Regions from separate parts of the Homo sapiens genome. Here region 2 is linked to region 1. The links are contacts of gene promoters, found by promoter capture Hi-C in human tissues and cell types (Jung and others, 2019). All regions are on one chromosome and are shown on one strand. Each heading gives the region's core, a stretch centred on a gene start or on the middle of the fragment in contact. The rest is flanking DNA. Distances are from core to core; before and after follow the strand shown. Region 1 holds the start of ZNF716 (zinc finger protein 716). Region 2 overlaps ZNF479 (zinc finger protein 479).

Evidence for each region. The method cuts DNA at HindIII sites, captures the fragments that hold promoters and counts their contacts. A contact is called where the count stands out against the background at its distance.
Region 2: a contact is called between a fragment that was not itself captured here and the fragment with the promoter of ZNF716 in region 1, in 11 of the 25 tissues and cell types used here (H1 embryonic stem cells, IMR-90 fibroblasts, aorta and 8 more).

The regions. Positions count from the first base shown.
Region 1 is chr7:57,447,929-57,451,968 of GRCh38, forward strand. ZNF716 (zinc finger protein 716) reads left to right here and starts at 2,249. Exons shown (of 4, transcript NM_001159279.1): 1 at 2,249-2,399. The coding sequence starts at 2,361. The HindIII fragment of the contact is 19,624 bases long and covers 1-4,040 here.
Region 2 is chr7:57,127,774-57,131,929 of GRCh38, forward strand. The region is part of intron 1 of ZNF479 (zinc finger protein 479); the gene reads right to left. Among named protein-coding and RNA genes, the nearest start is that of ZNF479, 2.6 kb to the right of the region's middle. The HindIII fragment of the contact is 5,941 bases long and covers 1-4,156 here.

The DNA of each region.
Region 1 (4,040 bases), core at 999-3,498:
ATTTATTAGGAAAGTAAAGGAATAAAAGAATAGCTACTCCATAGGCAGAGCAACAGTGTGGGCTGCTCAACTAAAAATACTTACAGTTATTTCTTGATTATATGCTAAACAAGGGGTAGATTATTCATGAGTTTTACAAGAAAGGGGTGGGCAATTCCCAGAACTGTGTTTATCTTCTTTTTAGACCGTGTAAGGTAACTCTCTGATGTGCCATGGCATTCGTTAACTGTCATGGCGCTGGTGGGAACGTCTTTAGTGTGCTAATGCATTGTAATTAGCATGTAATGATTTGTGAGGACAATCAGAGGTCACTTTTATTCACATCTTGGTTTTGGTGGATTTCTGTGGCTTCTTTACTGCAAACTGTTTTATCAGCAAGGTCTTTGTGAACTGTATGTTGCACCAATCTCCTATTTATCCTGTGACTTAGAATGCCTGACTTCATGGAAAAGCAGTCCTGTAGGTCTCAGCCCCATTTTACCTAACACCTATTCCAGATGCATTTGCTCTGGTTCAAACACCTCTGACATGGCCACAGGGTGCTGGAATGTGGTTGGTCTGAACTGCAATGTGCTGGAAAGGTAAAATACAAGGTTACATTGAAAGATTTAGCTTCAAAAATGTATACGCTTTATTAACCATTACATACTAATCACATATTAAAATAGTAATATTTTTGATATATTGGGCTGATTAAATTGTTACAATCAATTCTACCATTATTCCATCTGTTTCTTTCTTTTTTATTTGGAGACAGAGTCACTCTGTCACCAGGCTGGAGTGCAGTGGTGCAATCTTGGCCCACTGCAACCTCTGCCTCCCAGGTTCAAGCGATTCTCCTGCATCAGCCTCCAGAGTAGCTGAGATTACAAGTGCCTGTCACCATGCCTGGCTAATTTTTGTACTTTTAGTAGAGACAGGATTTCGCCATGTTAGACAGGCTGGTCTCGAACTCCTGACCTCAGGTTTTCTGCTGCCTCAGCCTCTCAAAATGCTGGAATTACATGTGTGAGCCACTGTGCCCGGCCCCACCTTTTTCTTTTTACTTTTTAATATTTGCCTAATAGAAAATTCAAAATTTACTTGTGGTTCACATTTTACTGCAGAGGACTGCCTCCTTCGTGAAATCTCAGGCTGCCTTCATGGATTAGGTCATTTTCACACTGCTATAAACAAATACCTCAGACCACGTAATGTTTTTAAAAAGTGGTTTAATTAAGTCATAGTTCTACATGGCTGAGGAATCCTCAGGAAAATTACAATCATGACCATGACGGAAGGTGAAGGGAAAGCAAGGCACATCTTACTGGGTAGAAAAAGAGAGAGAACTGGGGATGGGGAGGGTAGGGGGATGTGCCACAGTTTTAATCCATCGGATATCTTGAGAGCTCCCTTACTATCACAAGAATAGCATGAGGATAATCCCTCTCTAAGATCCAGTCACCTCCCACCCGGTGCCTGCCCTGACATGTGGGAATTACAATTTTTTTTTTTTTTTTTTTTTGAGACAGAATCTCCCTGCTGTCGCCCAGGCTGGAGTGCAATGGCGCGATCTCGGCTCACTGCAACCTCCGCCTCCTGGGTTCAAGTGATTTTTCTGCCTTAGCTTCCCGAGTAGCTGACCCTATAGGCGCCCGCCACCACCCTGGCTAATTTTTGTATTTTTAGTAGAGACGGGGTTTCACCATGTTGGCCAGGCTGGTCTCGAACTCCTGACTTCAAGTGATCCCTCCCCGCCCCCCGCCCTCCCCTCTCCCGCCTTCGCCTTCCCCGCTCGGCCTCCCTAAGTGCTGGGATTACAGTCGTGAGCCACCGCGCCCGGCCAGGAATTAAAATTTGAGATGAGATTTGGGTGGAGCTACAGAGCCAAACCATATCACTGCAAAGGATCCGCAGCAAGGAAGGTCATAAAATCTGAAATTGTAAAATAATTCTTTATATTTTTTCAATTTATGAATAACTATATTATATATCATTTATAAATGCATATGACATTATACACAAGGTTAAATGCAAGTATCCTCTGGGGTTGGCCTGGCTCAGATCAGGGAAGAAGCCTTGGCTGTAAAGGCTGCAGCCTAACCTGTTACTTTTGCTTTATTCAGCCCAGTGTCTGATCAAATTTTCCGTCACTCAGGGCATGAAGGGTGGGGCCTCAAACCTTATCCAATCAGGGGCCGTGAAATAGAAACTGTCCAATCAGGAATGCAGCGGGAGAGAACAGGACGCTTCCGTAAGGTTACGGGTTCTTTTTGCTTCTCTGCGCCCAGAGCTCCAGTCCTTCTCTTCACTGCTCTGCGTCCTCTGCTCCTGGAGGCCAAGCCTCTGTGGCCTTGTGTCCTGCAAGTATTCGCAGATTTATGGCTAAAAGACCGGGACCCCCTGGAAGCCGAGAAATGGTGAGTGCTGGGTCTGTCACCGTGAGAGAGGGGTGGGGGCTGGTTGGAACTGACTGAAAGTGGCTGTAGCAGGACCCAAACTTCCTCGCAGTCAGCTCCGGAGTCTGAGGACCCAAATCCTCCTTGTCCCAGCTCGGCTCTTAGTCCCCTCGAGCGTTAAGATGCTGCCTGGGCCAGCGGCTGGGACCCTGGGAGTTCTGTCTTTTTCCTCTGCAGTGGCTTTGCCCTGGACTGGAGCCCTCTCTGGGCAGCTCTACACTCCCAGCGCCTCATCTCACCCAGACTGTGCAGGGATGGGAAAGTCATCAGGGAAGAATCCAGACTTAGGGTGCAGGATTCGTGAGTGGAAAGAGCTGTGTTCCCTGGGGTCCCTAGTTCCTCATTTTTTCTTTTAGAGATGTATGGGGAGTCGCTGTAAAAATATCAGAGAATTGAATCAAAGTGTGATTCAAGAATCTTAGAGCGCCCAGCTATGGTTTGTGGGTTGTGATCCATGGGAGAGACTTGAAGGAAAGTTTGTTATAAGTTTCATGATGAAGCAAACCCGATTAAATAATTGGTTTGGTACAGTTAGGTAGTTTCCTTGTTTGTAAGATCCAGGTGAAAATGGCTTGGTTATGTCATCAGAGATTAATTGGCAGTCTGTGGTTGACTAGGCCTGAATATTTTTCTTCAAGAAAGTAATTTCCAAGAAATGCATTTTTTTTTTTTTGAGAGGGAGTCTCGCTCTGTTGCCCAGGCTGGAGTGCAATGGCACGATCTCAGCTCAATGCAACCGCCCTCCCGGGTTCAGGCGATTCTCCCGCCTCAGGCTGCGGAGTAGCTGGGATTACAGACTGCCACCACCACGCCCGGCTTTTGTTTTTTAGTAGAGACGTGGTTTCACCATGTTGGCCAGGGTGCTCTTGAAATCCTGACCTGAAGTGATCCGCCTGCCTTGGCCTCCGAAAGTGCTGGGATTACAGTCGTGATCCCCCCGTGCCCAGCTGTAAGAGATACATTTGAGATAGATTTTTTTTTTTAAGTGAGAGCCGAGAAGAATCAATCCACCTCAGTCTAATTGGCTGCTGTTTAAATATTTTTACACCCCACAGGAAATTGGTTTTCCCTTGGATTTTTTTTTTTTTTTTTTTTTTTTGAGATAGAGCCTCGCAATGTTGCCCAAGCTGGAGTTCAGTGGTGTGATCTCAGCTCACTGCAACTTCCGCCTCCTGGGTTCAAGTGATTCGCCTGCCTCAGCCTCCTGAGTAGCTGGGATTACATGCACCCGCCACCATGCCTGGCTAATTTTTGTATTTTTAGTAGAGATAGAGTGTTGCCATGCTGGCCAGGCTGGTCTCAAACTCCTGGCCTCAAGTGATCTGCCCACCTTTGTCTCTCAAAGTGCTGGGATTACAGGAATAGGCTATCACACCCAGCCTGCGTTTTTCAACTCTTTCTTTCTTTTTTTTTTTTTTGAGATGGAGTCTCACTCTGTGGCCCAGGCTGGAATGCAGTGGCGTGATCTTGCCTCACTACAACCTCCACCTCCTGGGTTCAAGTGATTCTCCTGCCTCAGCCTCCCAGGTAGCTGGGATTACAGGCCTACACCACCATACATGGCTAATTTTTGTATTTTTAATAGAGATGGGGTTTCACCAT
Region 2 (4,156 bases), core at 73-2,572, 320 kb before region 1:
CATAGAGATCTTGAACCAAGTGAATAAAATTGTTATCAACTTTATTAGGACACATTTTTATTATGTGCTGATGCACACACAACACAACATCACTGCTGTGGCATTTCTCTCCTCTCAGAAAAGTAAATTATAATCTACATTTAATTTTATTATATATATATATATTTTTTTTTTTTTTTTGAGACAGAGTCTCGCTGTGTCACCCAGGCTGGAGTGCAGTGGTACCATCTAATCTCACTGCAACCTCAACTTCCTGAGTTCAAGCAATTCTCCTGCCTCAACCTCCCAAGTAGCTGGGATTACAGGTGCATGCACCATGCCTGGCTAATTTTTGTATTTTTTTTTAGTAGAGATGTTGTTCCACCATGTTGGTCAGGCTGGCCTTGAACTCCTGACCTCACGTGATCCACCTGCCTCGGCCTCCCAATGTGCTGGGATTACAAGCCAAAGCCATTGTGTCTGGCCTAAATTTAATCAAAAAGAAACATCAGTTTTATGCAAAGTTGAAGGTGCAGATAACTTCCCTGTTCTGTAATTTTTATCAGTAATTTTAAGTAGTCTTTCCTTAGCACCCTGGAAAGCAAGTATCTCCTAACAGTTTTTTCAGAACTTTCTGTGTAATAAATGCCACCCTGTTTAAATGAGCATTTTCTAAACACTGTCCTGCATGGAACTAATAGAGCACACAGATGAAACCTCAATAGAACATGTTTCACTTTTCACTAATCTCCAAAGACAACGGTATTTCCCCAATAGAAATCTTGAGTATCCACACCTTCTAATGTTCAACAGCTACAATGGGAACATTTTAAATATCGTAGGTCATAAATTTGTTCTAAGAATTCTGCATGATATACAAGAATCCAAGATGAAGAGAAATGTATAGAATGCTATGGCATATAGAAAACAAATATTTTTTTCAGAACCCCTTGACTATCATAAAAATCACAAAAAATAGTTGAAACAAACTCATTAGGGATCAACAGCACAAGTAGAGAAGTAAAAATTTGCAAGATCTGAACACAAGGCATTCCAAAAGGCAGCAGTGGACACTGCGCTTGATCTGAGACATGCTCACCTGAGAAAAAGTGATTTGTTTCTTTTCCTCCTCTTTCTCTGAAATGTATTTTCAGATGAGATGCTCTGGACATATCAAACCTGCATCTTGAGAATATGCCTTTAAAGCACAACCTATTCACCTGCTACCACCACACACACCCACGGCAGAAAGACCGAGACTTGCAGAAAACATTCACCCATTTTTGTTGTTTATAACTGAAAAGATTTAAGAGCAATGAGAGAACAACAAGCTTCTCCATAACTATTAAAATATAAGTTTCTTTGTCCCTGCCCTCCCCTATCAGAAACCAACAATTTTCTTTACAGTAATGGGAGCATGAACCGCACTGACCTCTTCCTACCAAACTGAAACAGGGCAGGCAGTGCAGCCTTCCTATGATGCAAAGGTTGAACTAAACTCTCCTGAAAGTATCTTGAACCCCTCAAGTTTATAAATCACTTGGTAATCTTGGCCCCGCTCTATGCAACGTGATTCTGCAGGATCCAAAAGGGTCCAGGAATGGGCTTTTACAAGTCCCCTGTAAATGCTGATTGTGCTTTCGCAGACACATTATTAGCATTAGCAAGAGAAAGCAGGCACAGCAGAGTCCCTTACACACACCACATTTGTCACAATACTAATACTACTGCTACAAATAAAAACAACCAATTTCCACCCTGAAATGCTATATTTTTGTTGGCTTTTTTAAGTTTACAGGGACAACAGAAGACAGTAATGTCTGAGTGAATCTGCACCTGGGAAACCTGTACACATGTACTAATAAAATGTTTATTAAGCAGGTATTGTGTGCTCAGGAGCATGTCACAGAACACTGCGCTGGGAATAACACATTTTGTGATTTAATTTTCATAGCACCCTGGGAGTTGGTACTAAGTGCTGAATAATTTTTAGCATTTGGATTAAGAGCACAGCATTTTTATTTCTTCTTATCTTTCTCATTAATTTTAAAAAGAAAATGTATAGAATAATTCAATACAAAAAAACATGTGAAAGGATGCAATTACATAAAAATGGAATAATCAGCTTCCAAATGGCTATTTTGGAAATAATGAAATTAAGGCAGAAATAAAATTTTTGAAACTAATTACAACCGAAATACAACATACCAGAATCTCAGGGTTAGAGCTAAGGCAGTGTTAAGGACAAAATGTATATCACTAAACATCCACATCAAAAAGTTAGAAAGATCTCAATTTAAAAATCTAATGTTACAATTAAAAGAATTTCAAAAGTAAGAGCAAACCAACTTCAGAGCTCACAAAAGTCAAGAAATAACCAAAATCAGAGCTGAAATGAAGAAGTTTGAGACATAAATAACTATAAAAAGTTCAATGGGCCACGCATGTGCTGTGGCTTGCTCCTGTAATCCCAGCACTTTGGGAGGCCAGGGCGGGAAGATCACGAGTTCAGGGGTTTGAGACCAGCCTAGCCAACATAGTGAAAGCCAATCTCTACTAAAAACACAAAAATTAGCTGGCTGTGGTGGCACATGCCTGTAATCCCAGCTACTCCAAAGGCTGAGGCAGGAGAATTGCTTGAAACTGGAAGGCAGAGGTTGCAGTGAGCTGAGACCGCACCACTGCACTCCAGCCTGGGTGTAAGAGTGAAACTCTGTCTTAAAAAAAAAAAAATTCAAAGGAACCAGAAGTTAATTCTATGTAAACATAATAAGATAGATAAAACACTAGACTAATGGGAAAAAAAGAAATAATTCAAATAAAAACAATTAGAATAAAAAGTAAAAACAAAAACAAAAACAGATGCTTGTGAGGTTGTGGAGAAATTGAATGCTTATATGCTGCTGGTGAGAGTATAAATTTATTTAACCATTGAGAAAAGCAGTTTGGCATTTTGACAAAAACCTGAAAACAGAATTACCATTCCCAATCCCGCAATTGGGAATATACCCAGTGAATGTAAGTTTTTCTACCATGAAGACACATGCACGCATATGTTTATTACAGCACGATTCACAATAGCAAAAACAAGAAATAATCCTGTATGTCTTCAATGGTAGACTGGATAAAGAAAACGTCGTATGTAAACACCACGAAATATGATGCACTATAAGAAAGAACAACATCATGTCCTTTGCAGCAATGTCGATTGAACTGGAGATCATTATTTTTAGAAAACTAGTGCTGGAACAGAAAATAAAAAACTGTATGTTGTCACTTATAAGTGGGAGCAAAATAATGAGAACACGTGGACACAAATAAGAGAACAACAGACACTGAGGGTAGAGGTCTGTTCAGGGTAGAGGATCAGAGGATGAAGAAAATCAGAAAACAAATCTGTTGGGTACTATACTTAGTACTTGAGTGATAACATAATCTGTACACAAAAACTTCATGATATGATTTTACCTATACAACAAACCTGCACATGTACCCCTGAACCTAAAATAAAAGGTAAAAAAAAAAATCAGCTGGGTGCGGTGGCTCACACCTGTAACCCCAGCCCATTGGGAGGCTGAGGCAGGCAGATCACCTGAGGCCAAAAGTTGGAGACCTACCTGGCCAACATGGTGAAATCCTGTCTCTACTAAAAATACAAAAATTAGTTGGGCCTGGTGGCACACACCTGTAATTCCAGCCACTCGGGAGGCTAAGGCAGGACAATTACTTGAACCTGGGAGGCAGAGGTTGTAATGAGGTGAGATCGCACCACTGCACTCCAGCCTGGAGGACAGAGCGAGACTCCCTCTCAAAAATAAAAAACAAACAAACAAACAAAAAAAAAACATTTCTTGTAAATTACTATCTTGAAGAAAATATTTGGCCTAGGCAACCACAGACTGCCAATTAATCTCTGATGACATAACCAAGAAATTTTCACCTGGATCTCACAAATAAGGAAACTACATAACTGTACCAAACCAATTATTGAATCTGGTTTGCTTCATCATGCAACTTATAACAGACTTTTCTTCAAGTCTCTCCCATGGATCACAACCCACAAACCATAGCTGGGTGCTCTATGATTCTTGAATCACACTTTGATCAGATTCTCATTTTTACAGTGACTCCCATACATCTCTAAAAGGAAAAATGAGGAACTAAGGACCCCAGGACC